Regions from separate parts of the Homo sapiens genome. Here all the other regions are linked to region 1. The links are contacts of gene promoters, found by promoter capture Hi-C in blood cells and fetal thymus (Javierre and others, 2016). All regions are on one chromosome and are shown on one strand. Each heading gives the region's core, a stretch centred on a gene start or on the middle of the fragment in contact. The rest is flanking DNA. Distances are from core to core; before and after follow the strand shown.

What was found. The method cuts DNA at HindIII sites, captures the fragments that hold promoters and counts their contacts. A CHiCAGO score of 5 or more calls a contact.
Region 2: a fragment that was not itself captured here is called in contact with the fragment with the promoter of OXR1-AS1 in region 1 in 1 of 17 cell types (non-activated CD4 T cells); the score reaches 7.3 in non-activated CD4 T cells.
Region 3: a fragment that was not itself captured here is called in contact with the fragment with the promoter of OXR1-AS1 in region 1 in 3 of 17 cell types (non-activated CD4 T cells, naive CD8 T cells and total CD8 T cells); the score reaches 8.8 in non-activated CD4 T cells.
Region 4: a contact is called between a fragment that was not itself captured here and the fragment with the promoter of OXR1-AS1 in region 1, in 1 of 17 cell types (fetal thymus). The highest score is 6.1, in fetal thymus.

What each region holds. Positions count from the first base shown.
Region 1 is chr8:106,655,855-106,659,651 of GRCh38, reverse strand. OXR1-AS1 (OXR1 antisense RNA 1) reads left to right here and starts at 1,932. Exons shown (of 3, transcript XR_007061059.1): 1 at 1,932-3,541. All of the region lies in intron 3 of OXR1 (oxidation resistance 1), which reads right to left. RefSeq lists silencers at 1,322-1,471, 1,512-1,761 and an enhancer at 1,832-2,041. The HindIII fragment of the contact is 2,439 bases long and covers 325-2,763 here.
Region 2 is chr8:109,551,815-109,555,611 of GRCh38, reverse strand. It overlaps EBAG9 (estrogen receptor binding site associated antigen 9), which reads right to left. Exons shown (of 7, transcript NM_004215.5): 3 at 1,669-1,747; 4 at 725-883. Among named protein-coding and RNA genes, the nearest start is that of EBAG9, 14 kb to the right of the region's middle. The HindIII fragment of the contact is 1,613 bases long and covers 1,243-2,855 here.
Region 3 is chr8:109,535,337-109,539,133 of GRCh38, reverse strand. PKHD1L1 (PKHD1 like 1) reads right to left here. Exons shown (of 78, transcript NM_177531.6): 78 at 1,927-3,797. Among named protein-coding and RNA genes, the nearest start is that of EBAG9UORF, 2.5 kb to the left of the region's middle. The HindIII fragment of the contact is 518 bases long and covers 1,505-2,022 here.
Region 4 is chr8:104,583,653-104,587,449 of GRCh38, reverse strand. All of the region lies in intron 1 of LRP12 (LDL receptor related protein 12), which reads left to right. Among named protein-coding and RNA genes, the nearest start is that of LRP12, 3.7 kb to the left of the region's middle. The HindIII fragment of the contact is 1,547 bases long and covers 1,447-2,993 here.

The sequences.
Region 1 (3,797 bases), core at 683-3,182:
GTTACCCCACATATTTCTGAATTCTCCACCCATTTCAAGGCTGGTCACACATCAACTGTTTTCAATTAGGCTACTGAAAACTCATTTTAAAAAGTCCTTGATTTGAACACTTTAAAGTCCCTTTCCTATGCCTGGTCCCACCTTTAAGAGGATTCTGCATTTGGTTAACGTCCTTCAGAGCAGAAACAAAAGTATTCCCCTCCCCTTTTCATTTCCTAATTCCATAAACAGCATTTCTAAAGATAAAAAATATTTTATGTAAAGTAAGGAAAATTTATTTTAAAGGGCTATGCTAAAATGAGACTTTAATATTTCTTCAAAGCTTAAATTACATACCTACACACATAGATCAAAAATGTCCTCACTGTTTTACTGCTTTAAAACAACTGGCAGGGCCCAGCATGGTGGTTCAGGCCTGTAATCCCAGCACTTGGGAAGGCCTAGGCAGGAGGATCACTTGAGGCCAAGAGTTAAGACCAGCCTGGGCAACACAGCGAGACTCCATCTCTACAAAAATAAAGTAAGATAAAATTTAAAATAAAATGACTGGCACGATGTGGAGTTATAAACAGATTTTACACACTTTGTGCCTATCTCTATTTTCTAAACTCTCTAATGCTCATTTATTTTCATAACCCTCAAATATTAAAGCAATTAACAAAAATAAAAATCAGACATGGCTAGGATGTCTGCTACCTGTTAAACGAAGCCAAGGACACTGGAAGTTACCCTATGCATTATGCTAAAACTGTTCAGCAGCACTTTCAAAAATTCTTTAAGTTATCAATATCATGTCGCTACAAATGACTGTTTTAAAGAATGGTACAAAGCCACTGTGGTGAAAAAAATCGGCCAACACAACACAAAATAAACAGGAACTGAGAAAGTTTCTAGGTTCTGCCACCACAAGACAACGTGCAGCCGTTCAAAAAGTACACGACGCAAAATGTCAACTAGCTTCCAATGTTAATGAAGTGTTTTATTTTACAAAGAAGTATCTGGCTTTTTATTTTTCGGTTAGGAAGTGAATCCTAACAACTGAGAAATATTAAGGAAAGACTGACCCAAACCAAAACCAAAGCAGGCACAGCGCTCTTCAAGAATCCAAGACTGAAAACACGGACGTCATAACTGGTTCAGTCTTCACCTCCCAGTGGGAGGGAAAGAGAGAATGGATCGTCCCCTTGAAATACTTGGCGGGGAAAGAAAATCAAGTCTAGGTGAGGAAAGCAGGAAGAGCAGAGCAGGAAGAGCTGGCACGCAGCTGAAAGTCTTCCCTCCCCAGAGCCGAACGAGTCCTTCCTTCCTCGCCCCCGGCGGCCGCCACCCCGGCCACGTTGCCCGCCCCGGCCCAGGCACACCTGCCAGAGCCGGGCAGCGACCCCCGCCCGGCGCCACGACCGCCGCCTCCCCACAGCCCTCAGCCCAGGTCGGCCGCGCGGGAGGCGAAAGAAAGGTGGGCTCACCAGGTCCCTCCGGGCTGGACGGCGCCGGGGGCCGGTGGGGCGGGGACCCGCACCCGAGGTCCCCCTGGGCTGGCTCCCTCAGGTAATCTTCGAAGCGCACCTGCCGGGCTTCGCCGCCGCCCCCGAACCCCAACAGGCGGTTGGCCGTGCCCCGCAGAAGGCGCCCACTCTTCTCGGTGAACGTCGTCAGGTAGTCCATGCTGCCGCGGGGCTGGACGCGGAACTGGGGCCCAGGAGGTCGACGGTTTCGGCGGTGGCGGCCACCACTAGCGCGCCCACCGGCCCATCAGACCTGACCCAGGGGAGGCGGCTCCGCGCGCCTCACAAGAGGCGGGGAGGAGGAGGGGGCGTCCCTCTCTCTGCCCGGGGACGGACCATCAGGAAACCACGCGTCGGGGGAGCAAAAGACGGACAAAAGTTTTCGAAAAGTTTTTCTTGTGGCTTCTAAATGCAAAATGAGGCAGAACTTAGCTTGTCACATAGGTGTATTCTTCCTGGAACCGATGCGGGGTCAGAAAACTGATGGCTTTTAAGCAAGCTGGACGGGTCCTCTCAGCGCATTCCCCCACCCGCCTGGCGCCAATGGAGCTGGCCTGGCCCGCCCAGCCCCTCCCCGCCCCGTCCGCGCTCGGACCGGACTTTCAGGACTGCAGGGGAAAGGGTGGACACCCAGCCTCCCGCCAGGTCAGAGCAGAGGCTAAAAATGGCCCAGGGGAGACTGCTGGAGTTGCATGGAGTTCGGGAGCCTAGGAGGGGTCTGAAAATAACTGTCAAAAAGTTTGAAGGGTGTGTGTTGGCTTGGGGAAAAAAGAGGGTGGAGTGCATTACATAAAACTTTTGCAGCTTGTATTTCCTTTTTTTTTTTTTATGTTTAAGGACGGCGGAGATACCTTCAACGTAAGACTGCAATCATAATTAAAACATGAATAGTAACATTTTAAGTTCGTTGTGCCATTATGAACTCATGTTAGTGTTGGACATTCTATGATCCCAGTCCTGTTTAGGCAACGTTATTGAGGGATTTAGTTTGCGGATCTACCTTTCAGGGACAAAGAACCTAGACAGGGAAAGAACAGTAACTTTTGACAGAAATTTTGCTTCCTGTGAGATGTGGTTATTCTCTTCCTTTCACATCTGTTTGTAGTTCTTTTAGTTTTCCCAGGCATTAAATAAATTAAACCCTCTTTCTTGGAATCACCAATATATTAATATATTGGGGGGAAAAAGATTTGAATTACTTAGGAAGTTGATGAACTACCCACTCCAACAATAGAGCCCTGAAAATCAGGCTTAAGCTTTTGGCCATACTACTAAAGACTATCCCTCCTGACAAACACACACCCTCTTTTTTTTTTTTTTTTTTTAACTGGTTGACAGATCTTTTTTGCATCATCACCATTTTCAGTTTAGATTCTTACTAGGTGGGATAAATTTCACCATTCTAATATCAGCCATCACCATTATGCCTGGTGAAAAATACAGAATGTCTGGGCTGCATCCTCAGAGTGTCTAATTCGGTGTTTATGGGAAAGGGACCCAGGAGAATCTGCATACCCAGCAATCCATGTTTTCAGGGTTGTGGCTTGGGAAAGAACTGTTCCAGACTTCTGCACTTCCTAAGGACCTATTTTGTAGATGTTGCAGTGGACGGAATGTTTGTGCTTTCCCTTAAATTCATTTGTTAAAATCCTAACCCCAATGTGATGGTATTAGGAGATGGGGCCTTTGGGAGGTAATTCATAGCATAGAGGCCGCATGAATGCGATTAGTGCCCTTATAAAAAAGGGACCCAGAGAGCTGTCTCCATCTTTCTGCCACAGGAGGATACAAAAATACATCAGTTTGCAAACCAGAAGAAGGTCCTCACCAGAAACCAACTATGCTGGCACCCTGATCTTGGACTTCTAGCCTCCAGAACTGTGAGAAATAAATGTGTGTTTATAAACCAGTCAGTCAGTCTATGGTGCTTTATTATAGCATCTGGAACGAGCTAAGACAGCTGCTAAGTAGCATTCCATTTGACAAGGAAGACTTACCATTCACACTACTTCTGAGTTCAATGAAAGAGAGGCTCGGTAAGTTTTAAAAATCAAATTTCAATGACTTAGTCTAATTCTCATTAATAATTTAAATTATTTTTCTAAGATATGTTTTACATCTTCTAAAAATTTACCGGTTTGTTATAAGCATATCCAATTAATGCTTGAGATTTTACCTGATTAGATCTGCACTTTTACATCCAACATTTGCAGGAAGCTTCATTCTACCAGTTCAAATCCAGATTTACAGGTAGTTAACCCATCTGTTTTGGGTTTTTTTTCTGCTTCTATT
Region 2 (3,797 bases), core at 800-3,299, 2.9 Mb before region 1:
AGATATTACTGAAGTACAAACTTGTTAGAACTCTTATCCAATTCACCTTAGTCTCCATGGCAGAGACTGGAGTCTAGAATCTGACATATAGTAGGATTTCGATACATATATAAATATAATTTTAAAAGACTTGGGGTACAACTTACTAGAACTATGTCTAGGTCATTTGAACATATAAAATTCTTACTTAACATGACAGAAAACAAACAACTGATAATTAGAAATATGCTGATAGACTGGATTAAGAAAATGTGGCACATATACACCATAGAATACTATGCAGCCATAAAAAAGGATGAGTTCATGTCCTCCATAGGGACATGGATGAAGATGGAAACCATCATTCTCAGCAAACTATCGCAAGGACAAAAAACCAAACACTGCATGTTGTCACTCATAGGTGGGAACTGAACAATGAGAACACATGGACATAGGAAGGGGAACATCATACACTGGGGCCTGTTGTGGGGTTGGGGGAGAGGGGAGGGATAGCATTAGGGACATACCTAATGTTAAATGACGAGTTGATGGGTGCAGCACACCAACATGGCACATGTATACATATGTAACTAACCTGCATGTTGTGCACATGTACCCTAAAACTTAAAGTATTAAAAAAAAAAAAAGAAATAGGCTTTCTAATAAATGTGAATTGTATCACCTAATTTTAACTATAGGAATCTAAAAAGTAGTTTAATCTCCAAAAGCATAAATCTTAACATACTTTCTGAGTTTTCCTAATAGTTGGTGTCATGTCCTTAAAATAGTCAGGTTCCAGTTGTTCCAAAGAATTTTGTTGTGTTGCCACATTCCCATTCCCTCCTTCGATCTTTACACTGGTGGGTGCATCTTCATCCCAGGAAGTCCACTCTTCAACATCTGTCTAAATTTAATTGATCAACATTATCAGCCACAAAGGGGCAACTTAATGAACACATCATTGATGATTTATTAGAAAAATGGGCTTTCTAAAACACTGGTTTTCAAACTTTTTTAACCCACGGGAAAACATACATTTCATATCACAGATCAAAACTTGATCAAAAGTTCAAAAAATACAAGACATTCTGATATATTCTGTTCTATTTTATTCTATTATGTCCATCAAAAAACAAAAAACAAAGTAAAACGAAAGCAAATGCTCTGAAAACTGAACTGACATTAAAACTACAACTCACAGAAGGGCTGGACATTTTCACCCAAGCCTATCCAGATTGATCATCTGATAAAAAATACCAAGCTTCTCCACAGGATTTAAATAAGATGAAGTCTCAAAACATAGTATTCAAAATGTTCATGAAACAACCCAGAATTATTCAGCATATAAAAACAATACATCTAAATTTGCAAGGCAAGTTAATCAACAGATACCAACACCAAAATGATATGTTGGAATTCTCTAAGGCTTTAAAATAGCTATTATAAAAATGCTCCAACAAACAATAGCAAACACTTGAAACCAATGAAAACACAATAGAAAATGTCAACAAAGAAACAGAAGATAAAATGTAGAACCAAATAGAATTTTCAGACCAGATAAATTTAACAACACAACAAAAATTAATTTCTATTAATGATCTGCAATCCAGTTTTTAAAATATTGTTCTAGGACACTTATTCAATCTTTCAAAACAAAACAAAACAAAAGAACACACAAAAAAAACCTACCTGCTTAGGAACTGATGAATAATCAACTGTAGTTGGCAAAGTTATTTGGTCTCCACTTAATTTCCGTCCTCTGCCAGATCTGAAACAAAAATGAAATAATTTATTTCAAGAACCACCAAAACAAGCAAAGTAAAAGCACTATTATGTATGGTAATTGAAGGCTTATAAAACAAGATCTTTCTCAATTTTATGATTATTGATTTTAGTAACAGTTACTCACTAATTTATGGTAAAAAAAAGTCATAAATCAGACATCCTGTGAATGTTTTTTAAATCTTGGACAGAACAACATAACTGCTTTTTGGCTTAGGACTCAGAATTATAAACAAACTCAAGAGGAATATAAAGTCAAAAATAAAAATGCAAGACGGTTTCAGAGCATGCTCCTTGGAGTGCTGTGGGTTCTGTGGGTGAAGTTCTGGGCCACCTTTGCTGTTTTAAACAGGGTGGCTTGGCTTTTATGTTTTACACATGGGGTTTCTTGATAAGATTAACTATTAAGAAGTTTAAAAATCACTAGTTTGAACCAAATGGTAACTTACTTTTAAGGATTAGTAGGAAAAGTACCACATTCAACAGGACGTACTATAACTCAGTTGTTAAGAACATGGGCTGTGGAATCTGTGTAAACCACAGTTTTCAATGTTACTTCTATTATGTCTAGTTAGAATTACCTACTTTTCAGCCTCAACAGCCTCATCTATAAAATGCAGGTATTCAAACCCACTTTTGCAGGGTTGTTTGGATTTAATTAAGTGACATATTTAAAAACCCTAGACAGTGTGTGCCTGCTACATAGCACAACATACAAAAAATGGCAGGTAATAGAGATAATTAGTCATTTACTTCACTTCAAATAATCTATAAAAAAAAAAAGCATCAACTAAGAACTAAGAACGATAAAGTCAGCTATTTTTATTACAGATTCAAAGCTATATTTGTTTAAAGGGTGAATAGAAAAGTAATATAGTCCTTTATGAAATTTATGATACAAGCGTGTTTTTCCTTTCCATAGAGATGGGGTCCTGCTGTGTTGCCCAGGCTGGTCTTGAACTCCTGGCCTCAAGCTATCCTACCCCCTCGGCCTCCCAAAGCATTGGGATTACAGGCATGAGCTACCATGCCTAGCCAAGTCTGGTATTTTAAAATACATGGTCTAAGGTTCCTTCAGACACCAAAGAGAAGCTTATCCTAACATATGGTCAGTTTTCTTTAAAACTGAACATACAATCAATTCTAAATATGTATACATTTACAACAGAAATTTATAGTGCCAATAGGAATGTCCTTAATATTTTTACATCAAGAAAATTTCTTATCCTAGAAGTAATCTATATTTAATGAAAATTTTAAAAAATAGAAGTATAAGAAGAAAACATCTACATTTCATCACCACTGTTAACACAATGCTTCTTTTAACTTCCTGCCTTCTGGCAATTAATACCCATTTTTAATGTTGCTTTACCTGGTGAATTTCTGGCCATTCTCTTCCTCATTCTCTGGTAATTTGAACACTTAGTTTGCTCCTTTTTCTACTTCCCAAATCCTATCCTCTTGGGTGATTTCAAGTCAACCACCTAAATTTTCCATTTCTTTCTTCACTTCTGCCCCAGTGATCATCCAGAGATGATCATTTCACCCACTTGTTCTCTTGCAATACCCTGGATTTTTTTTTTTTTTTTAAATCCCAGACCACTCTACTTTTAGCAATAAGTTCAATTTAGCAGCTATCAAATGGTCATATAGCCAGAGACTGCAGTTCCTATCCTTCCTTGCAGCTAGGGGGCCATATGACTAAGCTCTGGAAAGCAGGCAGTGCAAAAATTGTTGTGTGTAACCTCTAAGTCATGTCTATATATATTAAAAAAAGAGCTGATTGCTGTCCATTTCCTCTTTTACTATACCCTCCTCTTAGTATGTAAGTAACTTTTTCACAGTACCCTTAGGCCACAGAAACACCTAACAATTCCACTGAATAAGGTAGTTACACCCAAAAAACTTAAGTATATCCTAACTGCTTAGTAGCCATTGTAAAAAATACACATTTAAAGAAAAAGTAATATTTTTATTTTATTCTTAAATAACCACAATCACTGAACTTATTAATGAAATTTGTGTGCCTGTTGAAC
Region 3 (3,797 bases), core at 514-3,013, 2.9 Mb before region 1:
GTTCCTCACATGCACCCTGGACTTGCCCTTCTTTCAACCTGAGATGTTCTTTCCTTCAGTGCTTCTCTCTTTGCAGCCTGATTCTTCTTTTTATCTTGTATGCTATGAAAGGGGTTGTTATGTGCAGGGGACCCTCAGAATACTATGCTCCACAGTTGCAAAGTGACTGGTGAGGGAGAAGTGAATAGGGTCTAAGGCCAAAATCAGTTTATGCAAATTGTTCTCAACAAGCCTTTTTCTTTATATGCCTTTAATTTTTTTTTTTATTACAGCTGCCTTTGTTCTCCCACCCTGACCCAGCAACCACCTACCCACTTAACTTTGTGATAATCTACCACAACCGTCCTCTTTCCAATTTGCACCACGTTTTTTATTAATAATTTAATTTCCAAGACGGGAAAGATGTGTTTATGGCTCGTGCTCTGGAATGGTTCTGTGTAAAGTTGGGTAAAATTATTTAATCTGTTCACCTCAATTTCCTCATCAGTAAAATGGCCATAATAGTGCCTACTTCATGCAGTAGTAATGCTTGCAAAGCTCTCTTAGCACAGAGCCTGGCACATAGCAAACATTCATAGATAACAGTTGTTGCTGCAGCTACTACTACTACTGCATTACTATTGCATTACTACAGTATCATTTCCGGTAATTGCATTTCCCAAAGGCCATGCAACCCCTTTCAGTCCCTTAAACACCTGCTCTAACTTTAATCTCTAGAATTCTAATGCCTAAATTTCAATATAAAATTTCTAAATTTTTTTTGGATTTAAAAAATCGAGTTATCTAGCTGGGCACGGTAACTCATGCCTGTAATCTCAGCACTTTGGGAGGCCGAGGCAGGAGGAACGCTTGAGCCCAGGAATTTAAGACCAGCCCAGGCAACGGGCGAAACTCCGTTTCTACAAATAATTTAAAAATTAGCCAGGTTTGGTGGCGCATGCCTGTAGTCCCAGCTACTCAGAAGGCTGAGGTGGGAAGAATCACCTGAGCCTGGGAGGTCGAGACTACAGTGAGCCATGATTGGGCCCTGCACTCCAGCCTGGGAGACAGAGCAGGACCCTGACTCAAAAAAAAAAAAAAAAAAAATCCAAAATAACCTATATTCGGATATAAACGTGTTTAAATTTTTTTTCTTAAAGAGTTGATTGCTTTAGACAATTTATTATGCCCAAGGATATTTTCTTCTTTTTCCTGATTCTTCAGTTTTCTTTATTAAATTTGCCATTTCCAAATGAAACAAAACGAAATGTATATACTTTTCCAGAAACAGCTAGTTACTGAGTACTTGTTTCCCAACACAATAGCAAAACAGAAAACAAAGCTCGCTAAAGACTGCAAATTTAAAATTTACTTTAGTAATACCTATAAAATAATATTTTAAAATCATCTTTACTTGTTAAATAGTAAGCCCATAATTGGGATCACAAGTCAATAATTTGGGATTGGGTTTAGGGACCACCTCTTGGGAACAGGGAACTTTAAGTCCTGTCCTCTCCCCAAAGCTTGTGTGGGACGGGGGTAGGAAACCACCAGATGTCAAATGGGAGGAACATAAGGGATAGAACCTGGCATATGAATTTCTTTTACTCAATGGAATATAGTAAATTCTGTCTGCTCTGTGTCCAAACCATTTTGCTCACTTTAACGCTTCTGATCAGCCTCTGCCCAATTACCAGCTTGATTTATTCACACTATCAACCTCCAGCCCACCACTTACTCTCCCCTTTCAAAGCCTACATAGGCTTTGTTCTGACTTCTCCAGCTGGGGCTAACTCTGGCCTTGTCACCTGACCTGGCCCAGGAGGTAGGAGCAGACTGCAAACACAGCCCTCTGCTTCCAGATCTTTCCCAACCCAGTTCCCTGGCTTTTCATCAAAGGGTGGGTTTTTTTTCCCTCAAACACAATTTTAGACCTGCTGTTCTGACTTGGACTTTAATGGCTTTTTATTAATGAGCAGCTGTTCACAGTTGAATACAAGATCATAAAGTCACATTCATTTCTTGATCAAGTAAAACAAAGCTTTGCCGCACATAGAGTGACATCTTTGAGCAGATACATTTGAAAGCATAGGATTTTCTGATGAGAATTTTAATGAATTGTTTTATTAATCTTCCTACTGGAGAATTTTACTTGCTTTCAAAATAATAAACATTAATATTCTGGAAAATTATAACTTCTTTTTTAATACTCAAAATCACCATATACTAGTTAGGGTCAATTGCCTAATAGAGAAATCAAACAGTCTGAAGCAGATTTTTTATTTCTTTTCTATTAAATGAAAATTAACTTTCTATGAAGCATTTAAATAAATTTTTCCTCATAATTGTTATTACAATTAGCAGTAACTTTTATTGCTAAATACAGGAAGATTCAAAATTTAGTAACAATTTAGAGTTAACCAGTTTTCTTCAGAAGGGGCCTGGTTAGAAATCAAGAAAAATAATACATATATTTTAGTAGAAATAAATTCAAATGAAAAGATGAGGTGAATTCTCATTTTGTGTTCAGTGGTGAGGTTCAGCCACATCATACTTCTGGCTAATGTCCACATCGTTATTAGATTTATGACAGAGTTCAGCTATATTATGAATTAAGTAGAGTTGATGGGAACAGCATCTGGCAGTCTAAGACCTTTTGTTATTTCTAACAGTAAATGTATTGAAATTCATACAACCAACATAAAACAGTAGTTTGTAAATCTATCTTGTACATGGATTGAGAAAGTAGAAATAAAACAACATGAAACAATGTGAGACTCATTCATTGAGCTACAGCATGATGGACATCGTGACTTTGACCTTGAACAACTTTAAGCCTCAGTTTTCTCATCTGCAAAATTAGGTTAGTAATTCCTGCTTTACGGATTTATTTTGCAAATTAAATATCATACCATATGTGGAAATGTGTTGGAAACACAGCAATAAAATCGGTGAAACCTTTGAAGCAGGCAGATTTGTTATCTTCAAGATCAGTACAATCCCCTTTAGCTCACAACATGGAATAGTGCTTCCAAGAAATAGAGGTGAATTTTATGTCATCAGCAACCAGAAGTAGACATGTCTACTAGCAATATATTAACAAAGGGAAACAGGGAGGGACAGCCAGAAGTCAACCCTCCATACCCCCGCTTCTACCTTCTTTGTTCCCTTCTTTGTTCCCTTTGTTTTAAAGGCATAGGATGAAAGAGCAGCTGTCAGAACTATGACACTTACAATCCTTCCCCTCTCTCTCCAGGCTTTTATGTACTACTCATGGGATATTTATTTCATACCAAGATCTGTTGCCAAGTTTTGTCTATTCTTTCTTCTCAGTGTCCATCATTTCAGCACATCTGGATATCAAAATGATCTGCTAACTTAGTCTTTTGTATTTTACTATTTTCCTTCCTCTAAGTCAGTTTGTTACTTTGCTGTCTGATTAATATAAATATTGTTACACCTTCTTCATAGTAACTGACCTTTTTAAATTTTCCAGTGTCTAATTCAAATTCACTTAGGAGGATATGTGTCTTGATTGTTGCTTTTTAAACTCTTAATTTTGAATTGTTTGTTTGGGGATCTCCCTCTAACCACCCATGCCCTTTAAGACATACCAGAAATTCTTGTTAAAGGAGTTGGTCTATGTATACTGTACATTTCATACAGTGAAAATTAATTTAAATCTATATTTTGTACGTAGTTCTTATTTGAAATTAAATCCTTTAAGGATTACTTTCACTTGAAAATTGAACTCATAATCATACTAGAAATTTTTGATGTGAAAAACTTAATAAATTTATTTTCTTCCTAAGAATTTA
Region 4 (3,797 bases), core at 971-3,470, 2.1 Mb after region 1:
GGACCAAAAACCCAGTACACGACTTTTGATTGTTAGCTGCATCAAGTGGCTGTAATCCCTGCTTGCCTGATGACTTGTGGGTTTGGGTCTACACCAGAGATCAATAAGCTATTACGTTGTTTCTTCTGCCCTGAAGGTGGGTATAGTTCTGCTCTAGGTTTGGTGTAATGGCCCAGGAGAGAGAAGAAATTGAGAGGTATCTTTAATTTAGGGTGATTAGGATTGTCCAGCTTTGTCCTCTACTATAATAAGCATTGAATTTCTGTGATGTCCGATCAGAATAGATAAATAAATGGGCTCTTCTTTCATTAAAACCTGTGTCATCAGTGTTTGAACTAGAAGTCTTTTGCCTCGAGGGATAAGAGGCTGTGAACCCCTCAATTTGTTTTGGTGCATTCTTTAGTACTTGTACACAAAGTGACTTTCTGGTAGGTGCCTATCAAAGCTTTTATCTTTTTGGAATTTGTGTTCAGTGAGGAACACAAATTGTTAGTAAGCAAAGACTGAAACTCCTTTTTCCAACAGTGTGGGCCGCAGATTATAAAACCAGCAGGTGATTATGCCAAAGGTTGATGTCTCAAGCCACAGCAGGTTTCAAAGTGTAAAAAAAAAAAGGAGGTAGTGAACCAGGCAGAACATTAAACTATATCAGCAGAGATTAAAGGGAACCCTTCACCCTGGAACTGAGAAATCCTCTTTATGGCTGCATGTTTTTTGTCCTCTTCTGTCTCTAACCATATGTGGGTTTATAATAGTGAAAAAGGGCTGTAACAATAGTATGGGGTGGATGTGGTTCTATAACAATAGTGGGAATTGAGTAACTTAGAATATATAGTAGTTGTAATGGGTGGTGGATGCATCCTGAGAAATAGCTGTCGCCTTGAGCCTGTTAGAACAGATACTAGCTGTAATTTATGAAACTGTCCTCTATACAGTAAAAAGTGTGTGTGTGTTTTAAAAGGCTTCAAAAATAATTAGCTCTGTTAATGAAACTGAATATTCACAATCACTGTTAACAAAGAAAAGCAGGTTGATTGGCCAATATTTAGGGAACTCCAATATTAATTCTTCACAGAGTGACTCTTAAATGAAATGACTCTAAGGTGTGCTTCAGATTTTTGAAACATTTCACATACATAAAAAAATTTTTTGTTGTTTATTTTGGTGCTACTTTCCAGATGACGATTTTATGGGCTCTGATATGTGACTGTTGTACTTCCAAATTAACTTTTCTGAATGCCAGAGTCTTACCTGAAACTCTAAATTGTAATCTAGAATATAATGTTTTCTAGAAGTAGTTGTTCAAGGACCTGTAATTATCTTTCAGGGGCTACTGTATCTTAACCGCATTCAATGTGCCTAAGAGTTAGGAGAGAGTAAAGGTTGACCTCTGCCACCTTTGAAAGTTTGAAGGGATAAAAATATCAGTGGTGACAACCACAAGCTTTGCTACGCATTGTCCTAGGCTTACTGTAAGAGGAAAAAGTGCTTTGTCATTTTTCACATAGGGATGTCTCGCTTTTACAAATCTATGGGAGTTTCCAAAACCTCTGTCTCCTAGTCAATAGAAGCTGTTAGTCTTGCTCACCTCCTAAACCACAATTTGGTAATTCTGACAGTTCCGTTGCTTTATCCTTTCCACTTCTGTTTGTCTCCCAGATTAGTGTTTCCTAACTTTTACTCAAACCCACCCTTAAAATACACATTGCTTCGGGTACTATGTACATAGAGAAAAAAGTTAATGAAATCGTACTCTTAACTACCTGTGCACTCAGATGTTTTCTATTTATTCCTCCTCTTTCTCACCCTTCCCTTCTTCATTTGCTGGTCTGGACTCATTAAATAAATTTTGGATCCACTAATAAATTGCAGTCCTTAGCTTGAAAAACACTACCCAAGATGAAGCCTTAAAATATAGTTTAGAGGCCAGGCGTGGTGACTCAAGCCTGTAATCCCAGCACTTTGGGAGGCTGAGGCGGGTGAGTCTCCTGAAGTCAGGAGTTTGAGACCAGCCTGGCCAACATGGCGAAACCCCGTCTCTATTAAAAATACAAAAATTAGCCAGGTGTGCTGGTACATGCCTGTAATCCCAGCTACTCAGGAGGCTGAGGCAGGAGAATCACTTGAACCAGGAAGGTGGAGGTTACAGTGAGCCAAGATTGCACGATTGTATTCTAGCCTGGGTGACGAGTGAAACTCTGTCTCAAAAAATAAATAAATAAATAAATGTAATTTAGAATGTTTCTTGTTTGTATATCATTTTACAATAAACTTCAAGAGTTGCAGATGGTTAATTTTTGGTTACTTGCTGCCAGAGCATTTGATAGTCGTAGAACTGTTCACAGCATATACTGATTGACTTGTGATAAAATTCATTTTTAAACTGGTTTTCAGCTTATTACAGTCAAGAGTCTTTACTGTTCACAGTAGTATTCTAGATGTTGTGGTAGCCTAAAATAATCTTTTTACTTTGCATATATGTAATGGATGAATCTTTTCCCATGAATTTTATGGAATGTTCAGTAGCACTTAATAACTGGTTTAAGGGTAGACAAGAAATTCCAATTTTAGAAAGGTTGTAGAAGTAACTGGAACATGAGGGAAAAATCTAAACCAGATACCAATTACTTCTTACAAAGTCAAGTTTGATTACATAAAATGTGTTGAATAAAATTGAATTAATTGCTTAACATAAACCCTTCCTTGAGTTCAGAATCTAAATTATATCCATATCCTTGGGAGAATATGAAGGTGGGCAGCACATTCCACAAAATTCTAGGTGGTTATCAGGGCAGAAAGTATTAAACAAGCACTGTTAACTGTATTCTAGATAGAGTATGGAGGAGATTTGAATGATGTATGGTAAATGATTTATAAGGTTCCTAGAAAGTAAAATTTCTTTTGAAGAACATAAAAGGGATTTTAGCCTGAAAAGTGAGCAGCAGTTAAAGAAAATGTTGAGATTTACTTTTGTAATTAGAAAATTTAAAGCTTATTAAAATATTAAGGGAACAAGAGGGCCTTTTTGTGTTTCTGATATGAGATGTTGTTCCTTTTTTTTTTCCCCACTTTACCAGTGATACCACAATTTAAGGGGTGAAAGTTCAGTAAAAATATATATGAAATATAAGTGAGAATTATATAGATTTAAGTAAACATAGAATATTTTTATTTTAGATATTAATCCTGTTCTTACTGCAAGTCTTTATAAGAAGAGGAAGGTTGTTCTAAATTTAGGAATTGGAAGTTGATGATCTCTAATTTCTAAGGTTACCTTTCTTTTCTGTTTTTCTTCTTTTCTCCTTATCACTCCCTGCTTTTTGAGAGAGTTAAGTAATAGATGTACATTATTTATTCCCATTTTCTAAAATTTAGGATTAGATCCTGCAAATACAAATTACCAATGTATCTATTCAAATACATGTTATCAGAGTCTCTTCTTTTTAAGTATATATAAATATATTATTTCAATACTGTATTAGCTTAGGGAATTCTTACTGTCTAAGTTATAGAAGGGAAGGAAGGAAACTAACATTAAATTAAGTTTAATAGCACTTATTTACTTACAAGTACTTAATACTTACATTGAAAGATGCGTGATTAGTCTTTATTTATTGCCAATTAATCTTTAGTAGGTCTTATTTGGCAATCCTGTCAGATATGTACTCTTTCTTTTGTTTTATGGAAGAGAACATTGAAACACAGAAATATTGTGACTTAACTGAAGTCAAACCAGTATGAAGTAGTAGAGTCAGGATTGTAGCCTAACCCTGGCTGTCTCTTCACTTAGTTCATTT